Linked DNA regions of Homo sapiens: region 1 is linked to region 2. Evidence: promoter capture Hi-C in 16 types of primary human blood cells and fetal thymus (Javierre and others, 2016). All regions are on one chromosome and are shown on one strand. The core of a region is centred on a gene start or on the middle of the fragment in contact, and the rest is flanking DNA. Distances in the headings are between cores, read along the strand shown. Region 1 overlaps SLC16A2 (solute carrier family 16 member 2). Region 2 holds the start of FTX (FTX transcript, XIST regulator).

Region 1 (3,903 bases), core at 609-3,108, 160 kb after region 2:
ACCAGCCTGGACAATATAGCGAGACCCTGTCTCTACAAAAAAATTTAAAAAGTAGCCAGGCATGGTGGCTCGCACACTGTAGTCCTAGCTACTCAGGAGGCTGGGGTGAGAGGATCACTTGAGCCCAGGAATTCAAGGTTGTAGTGAGCTATGAACTCACCACTGCACTCCAGCCTGGGCAACAGAGTGAGAACCTGTTTCTATGTATTTAAAAAAAAAAAAAGGCCGAGCACAGTGGCTCATGCCTGCAATCCCAGCACTCTGGAAAGCTGAGGCGGGTGGATTTCTTGAGGCCAGAAGTTCAAGAACACCCTAGTCAACAGTCAACATGACAAAACCCCGTCTCTACTAAAAATGCAAAAATTAGCCAGACATGATGGTGCATGCCTGTAATTCCAGCTACTTAGAAGGCTGAGGTGGGAGAATCACTTGAACCTGGGAGGCGGAGGTTGCAGTGAGCTGAGATCCCTCCACTGCACTCCAGCCTGGGCGACAGAGTGAGACTCTGTCTCAAACAAGCAAACAAAAACACAAAAAAACCTTTTGGACAGTGACAGTGACATTGTTATGATAAAGTACTTGGTCCAAACCTGCCATACAGGGCTAGAAAGTTCTCAGCAGTCATCCATCCCAACGGTTCCCAACCCTAGCTGACTATCAAAATCATGTAAGGAGTATGTTGAACATATACCTTCCCTGGGGCTCATGAAACCTACTGAATCAGAATTTCTGAGGTAAGGCCCCAAAGTCTGTATTTTAAACAATCTTATCAGGTGATTCTCATAATAGGACAGGTTTGGGAACTATTTGTCTGGTTGAATCCTTTGGATTTTTTTTTTTTTTTTTTTTTTTTTGGATGAGGAAACCAGGCTCAGAGGGGCAGGAGCCTACAGCAAAGTGGCCAGATGGGAAAGTAAGGGCAGAGCATGTCTGCCTTGCTTCTCATCATCTCCTCTTTGCATAGAACACCTAATATTATGTTCTCTCACCCTTTCTGATCAATTACTTGTCCTTCCATGTCTCTAGAACTGTGAGTACTTTGATGGTAGGACCATGTCAGATCCATCTCTGAGGTCTCCAAGTCCTTGAGCTTGATCCTTAAAGCTAGGCTCCCAACTTACTAGGCAGGTATACATTCTTAGACCCTATGCCTCTGTTTCCAGGGACCATGGGTTGGGGCAGGAGTTGGTGTCCCCCTTCCTTCAAAAAGCAAGGCAGGCTGCAAAGTTTGAAGTATGTGAAATATGGAGGCCAGTTCTTGTGCCGAGGGAGCTGGAATGTCCAGTGGCACCAGGTTACCTGAAGCTTGGGCTGGGGCTGAGTGTTGATCTCAGGGGAATTTGGGCGTCATTCCCATTACTATCACTGACAGCAGCCTTACGTGCAGCGATAATGACATGCTTTGAAAAATGCCTCAAATGTCAGTTACCCAGCATTGAGACAGCCCCTGAGAGTTGTTCCTTCATGCCCGCATCTTTAGCTGTGCTTATCACTCTCATAGCACTGTGTTTCACCCTGCCCAATTGTGCAGGGCTGTCTGGGGCCTTGGTCTTCTGTTCTTGGAGCCAGGATAGGAAGTAGAATAAAAAGATGGCTGTGGAAGGCAAGGCAGGACTAACCATTCAGTAGTTTGCATTTTTGTGCGTTAAGATGAGCTCGTGCCAAACTGGGGAGGGAAGTATGAATGAAGCACAGACTGTCATTAGACCTGGGTTCTAACCTTACCACTGTCATGTTCATTTGCTGTGTGACTGTGGACTAGGCCCTTACTCCTCTAAGCCTCCATTTCTGCACCTGTGCAATGAGTAGCTTGGACTCACAACCTTTCTGTTCTAATTGAGTGATGCTAATTTAAGAGCCAAGCTGGAGGGTCAGGGGTGGGTATCTAATGAGTGATGCTCATTCCCTGCCTTCATTCATCGCATATCTTGAGTCCACTCTTGGAAAACATATGTTGTTAGCCCCAAAGGCTCAAGATATAACCTCCAAAGTAACTTGCATAATATATTTGCACCCTGCTGTGTTGGCTTTGTGCTGATAACATCTCAACACAGCCTGGATCCACTGTACTCTGGTTATGTCAACTTCTCAAAGGCAGTCAGATGCAATTGAAGACTGCTTTTCCCACTGGATGTGGGTGCCTGACAATGTAACTAACTCTGTTTTTCAGGGTCTCCTCCCTGGTCCTCTCTTGTTCAGCTCTGCAGCATCTGTGCGACTTCTCAGTGCATTGACTCCTTTAGCCACACACCCCTCTAAGTAGGTTACCTGCTGGCACTGGCTCAGTGCCAACAGGCTGTGGTTTCTCTAACTGTAAAGGCCTTGATTCATCCTGGTTGTGAGGAACTCTTTTAAGTTTGGCAGCTGTTTTACTCTGGGAATTTCTCCTCTGCCTAACCCTTCTCCCATCAACAAGCTTCCTTCACTTCTTCCCTCCCACCTCCCTCAAAATCCCCTATGGATAATGGGATGATCTTTGTCTTGCAACAGGGCACTATAGACGACCAGGATGGTCCATCCTTCCTCCACCACTAGTGACAGCAACAAGGCTAGCTTGGGGAATTTTAGCATCGCTCAAAGCCATGACTAATAAATAGATAATTTAAGCAAAACTCATGCACTTGCTATGCTAGCAAGCATCAAGGCAAGTCCTTTAGTCACCTCCTTCCAACCAAATTGCTTTCCCTAAGCCCTTTCTATTGAGAAATTATGGACCCTCCACCCCCATTATATGCCCCAGGGCCTAGCACAAGGGCTGGCTGGCACATAATAGATGCTCAATAAATATTTGTTGAATGAATAATGGCCGAACAGATGAAGACTAAACATACCTAAAAGCTAAAGGAAATAATGCTAGCTGAGTCAGGAGACCTGGATCAGCCACTAATCCATCTTGTGACCTTGAGCATGTTCCTCTCTTTGGGTCTAAGTCTCTTCCTCTGTAGAATTTTGCACTGAACTCAGTGATCTTTTAGGGGTCTTCCATTTCTGGGAGTTCATAATTCTGTGATCCGTACTCTTGTACCAAATACCACTTGCCGCCACCACCCCTGCTCTGCCCCGCCCCACCCAAAGAAGTAAAAGAAACTTCCATCTAGTCATCAGATAGTATTGGGATCATGCTGATAGGGAAAAGAATATAACTTGGGGTTTTGGACCAAGCCAATATCAGAGAAGCCACTGCTTCCCATTATGCCAATGGGGATTGCTGATTAGGTCTCACTCCTATGACACAAAGGCACAACATTCAAGGTCCTCCGCTCCTTGCCTCCTCTGCCTTGTCTTTGATGTCCCATGAGAAGTATGTTGACCAGACAATATCCCCTTGGCTCTGGTAGTGGTTGGAGTCAGTAAGCTGTTGGAGATCTGGGAGTCCTGGTCATTGCAGAACAAAATTCTTGTCCACTGTTATAAGCACATAGGTCTTGATTTTAAAAGTCTTATGCAGCCATAAAAATATACACAGACCAACCTGCCTGGGATTAAAGGGAACTAGGCAGAAAACCAGAAAAGGTAGAGTCTCTCTTAGTGGGCCTTTCCCTTTTTGTCTCTCTGAATTGGGTTTCCATGGGGATCTGTGGGTAAAACACATGAACTTTAAACACTTTTTAAAAAAACTTAAAATGACATTTAAGAGACCTCCAATATTGGAAATCTTTTATTCTCTGATTCAAAATATGTAACCAGTAGAAAGGTGGTTTGTTTCGTATGTGTTCTTTTAGTGTGATGAGTCAGGCTGAAGCTGGGATTGGGCAATGACTATGTGAGTATGTGGTGAATTTCAGAGGGGAAGTGCTGTTTGAGGAAAGGCAAAGCATATTTATCAGACAAAGAATGTATGAAGCCTAAAGCATGTGTTTAATACTTTGAGAAGCTGGTTACTCATACCTCCCTCCTCCTTGA
Region 2 (3,842 bases), core at 930-3,429:
TAGTGAATTGAGATCGCGCCACCGCACTCCAGCCTGGGCGACGGAGCAAGACTCTGTCTAAAAGTAAATAAATAAATGAGCGAGAGAGAGAAATAGGCCCAGAGAAGGAAAAGGACCACCATGAAATAATAGCTAGGATTACTGGGAAAAGATGTTTTTTTCAGTTTTTAATCCTGTGCTCCTTCTAACTATGTCTGTATCTAAGTGCTAACTTACTAGTTTTAGCGATTAACAGCAAGTCTTCAGAGAGTCATGACAGTACATCTGCCTTTAAAATAGAAACTCTAATCTTCTCCCTTGACAAAACCGTGCTGAAAGTTCTACAGAAGAAAAAATAAAGGAAAGGGTGAAAGCCCAGGTTACCTTCATACCACCACTGCCATTAACTACTTTTCAATCTTTCTCCACGACAGTATGAGTCCCAGGCAGCCATAGGTCCAAATTCCAGGTTTACGGCAAAGAGTAACAAGCATTTGGAAACACATCCAAATCCTCACGCCTATGTTCTCAGGGAAGAAAATCAAGAGCTTTCGGCCAACATTAACATTGGATTCTCACACTACAACCACAGTGTTTTGCTACTCTGATGGGGTGACTGTATTCAGAGCCAAGTACAGCGACCCAAGATCGGAAAGCCAGAGAGCCCTCCGAATGCGTACTGCCCAAATGTGGCCTGTCTCCAAGTGCTCCCTTTTTACGCATTTCCTACGCACCGCCAGCTGCCGCAACCTTTTGCAGAGTCATCATCGCCTCCTCATTTTTGTACCCACTTACCGATAGGCCACTGAGAGGCTAAGATTCTGGGTTAATTTCTAGTGGATCTGGCCACAGCATAGGAGAACTCCAACTCAGGTTGATCCCTTCACTCAGCTAAAAAGGTAGTTCTCTGCAAGGCCTGCTAGCCCAAGATGGCCAAGCAAAGACAGCTTACCTCCCCCCTCGCCATTTTGCAACCTTAATTACCCGAATGCTGAGCGCCTCCCCTCCCCGGCACTCCGTCTGAAATACGCATGCGCGCCGCTTCCTCCTTACCGTTCTCCCCAACCATCCAGATGTTGTCTCAAATATGCATGAGCGCCACCTCTACCTCCCAAACGCTGGTACCAACTCCTAGCAACTTTGCGTTGTTAAATATGCCTGCGAGTCCTTCACTTCCCGACCTTCCAACCCTCCAACCCCGACGCCATTCAAGCCTTGCGCATGCGTGCCTCCCTCTCCCCACCCCCGCCCCACTGGAGCCCGTCCCCTTAACTCAGGTCTTCTCAAATACTGTAAGCTTGAGCGCCGCCCCTCGGCGCCGCGCCTCCTCATCCAGCCTCTCAAATACCCTGCGCACCGCGATAGTCCTCTCTCTTCTTGCTCCCATTTGTATACAGTATGCATGCCTGATGCTATCTGGACGTGTTTCTCGCCACAATTCTGCCCCAGTGCCCAAGGAGAGCCATTACCAGCCTTCCCTAATGCGAGTAGATGCGATAAACTAGGGAAGTTGAATCGGGGAAAGAAGGCGTTGCAGGTGATCAGAGTGAATCCCAGATCTAGATGGAATCGGTCCCAACTCCAAGGGAGGGGGCTAGAGTACCCCAGGATTCACATAAGACCGGTCAACCTGAACAAAGGCAAGGAAAACTTTCACAAACCATCGGATGAACATAATCCTAAGGCCTCGCCCTTTAAATACATCTGCTACAAATGACGAACCACAAATGTTTTAAACAGGGAACATTATGGAAAACACCGATGCTCAGGTGCCTTGACTCTAGTTAGAGGAAAGGAACCCGCATTCCTTTCACAATGGGAAGCAAATGCTCAACATCCTTTTGGAAAACTGGGGCCTGTAACGTATTCCATTTTTTCCTCCCGTGAACTGGAAAAATGCACAAATTAAGGATCTTCCTGGCCCAAGTTCCCTCCGCCGCCCTCCATGTTCTGTTCTTCCCCTACATCGTTCCTTTACCTCCTGGTTGAATTCAGTGTCGTAGCAGGAATTCTTAGAGCTGGCCGTCCCAAGATGGGGTGGAGAGAGCGGCATGAAAGAGAGAGAGAGAGAGAGACACGCCTGAATGGCAGCAGCAGGCCTTAGCGGCAATGGACAGCAGGCACAGGACCAGCTTTGCCTCGAGCCGCAACGCTGATGCCAGAAAAGGACAACCTCTCCAGAATCGCCGCAGTGTGCTTCCAGCGCATGCGCTGCTAACGCCCCTTAACCCCCCCTCCGCGCCCCGCCTCCCCCACGCGCCGCTCTCCAGCCTCTAGGAGTCTAACCCTTAGCGGTCCACCGACCTCCTTCACTTCTTTCCCAGGACGCTATCCCACTCTGCTTCTTCCACCTTTCCCCTCCCCTCGGTCACACTGGCCTCCACCATCATCCCTCCCTCAGCCCATACTTCTTTCGTCAATCCCTCTCCCATTATTCTTAGCCCACCATCTACCTTTATTTCCTCTGCTATCGTTAGTGGTCTACCCTTCAATTCTTCACTTTCCCTGCCAGTCTGCAGCCCTCTTGGGCCTCTTACTCCTCTCCTCCTATGCCTGATGTTGAAATTTGTAAAAATTACCGCAAAAATTTTTTTTTAAATAATTGTAGCCCGGGCGCGGTGGCTCACACCTGTAATCCCAGCACTTTGGGAGGCCGAGGTGGACGGAACCCTTGAGTTCAGGAGTTCGAGACCAGCTCGGGTGACATGGCGAAACCCCGTCTCTACAAATAAATACAAAAATTAGCCGGGCGTGGTGGTGCGCACCTGTACTCCCAGCTATTCAGAAGGCTGAGGTGGAAGAATCACTCGAGCCCAGGAAGTCGAGGCTACAGTGAGCTATGATTGTGCCAGCTATGATGTTGCCAGCCTGGGCAACAGAGTGAGACCCCATCTCAAAAAAAGAAAAAAAATATTTCCACACATCCTCTCCAAAGCAGCTCTCAGGGTGAGCTCAACCAGCCTGTCTTGGGCAAAGAGAACACCTTTTTGATGATGACCCACAGGGAAGATCCAGAGACAGGGAACCAGAACAAAAACTGCAAAAGTGTTCAATCAATTTGGGGGTAAGAGGCAGTAGACCACCAACATGGAAAGCTCTTTTCTTTCTATTCACAACCCTGGTATTGTCTGGACATTAAAAATGAGATTCAATGTCCTTCACTGCTTACTACAAGGCCTGTTCTTGTCTTCTGTAAGAACTCAAATATTAATTTTGAGGGAAATGGCATTATTTACTTAAGAGGCTCTGAAATAGATCCCTCTTTGGGTGTGAACTAGAAAGAATACAAAATAATATTTTGTTTCTCTTTATTATGTTTTACTTTGGTGTCTGGTTCTTATTGCTTTCTAAAAGAGCCAGTTTGGAAATACCAAAAACTGAGACCCGCAAATTCATAAATCCTAAAACTCATAAACTTATACATCACCATCCTCTCAAATTAACTTAAGAATGTTATATCAACATTATTCAGAGAAAAATGGGTTTGCATTTGTTATATAATACGCCCAAAAAATTATACAACAATGTGCATATGAAGAAGAAAAAAGAGAAATAGGCATGCATTAAATAAAAAAGAAATGCCGAAATCTCAGTGGTACAAAGAACCTCTTCTAAATTAAAATAATCATTTATTATTACACAAAAGTTAAAATATAAGAAATTTTACCCCAAATTCTACAACACTATTTTAACAAATGCTCTTATCTCTGTTATTTTTCTGTTTTAATGGTTTTATTAATATATAATTTACATATCATACAGTTAACCAACTTAAAGTGTACAATGCAATGGATTTTAGTATATTCACAGAATTATGCAGCCACCACTACAATCAATTTTAGAATATTTTCATCACCCCAAAA

The links. The method cuts DNA at HindIII sites, captures the fragments that hold promoters and counts their contacts. A CHiCAGO score of 5 or more calls a contact.
Region 1: a fragment that was not itself captured here is called in contact with the fragment with the promoter of FTX in region 2 in 1 of 17 cell types (monocytes); the score reaches 5.1 in monocytes.

Annotation. Positions count from the first base shown.
Region 1 is chrX:74,447,474-74,451,376 of GRCh38, forward strand. All of the region lies in intron 1 of SLC16A2 (solute carrier family 16 member 2), which reads left to right. Among named protein-coding and RNA genes, the nearest start is that of SLC16A2, 28 kb to the left of the region's middle. The HindIII fragment of the contact is 1,111 bases long and covers 1,304-2,414 here.
Region 2 is chrX:74,291,395-74,295,236 of GRCh38, forward strand. It overlaps FTX (FTX transcript, XIST regulator), which reads right to left and starts at 2,180. Exons shown (of 7, transcript NR_028379.1): 1 at 1,958-2,180. LOC124905199 (a long non-coding RNA gene) reads right to left here and starts at 1,202. Exons shown (of 2, transcript XR_007068266.1): 1 at 364-1,202. RefSeq lists an enhancer at 644-1,434. The HindIII fragment of the contact is 8,135 bases long and covers 1,275-3,842 here.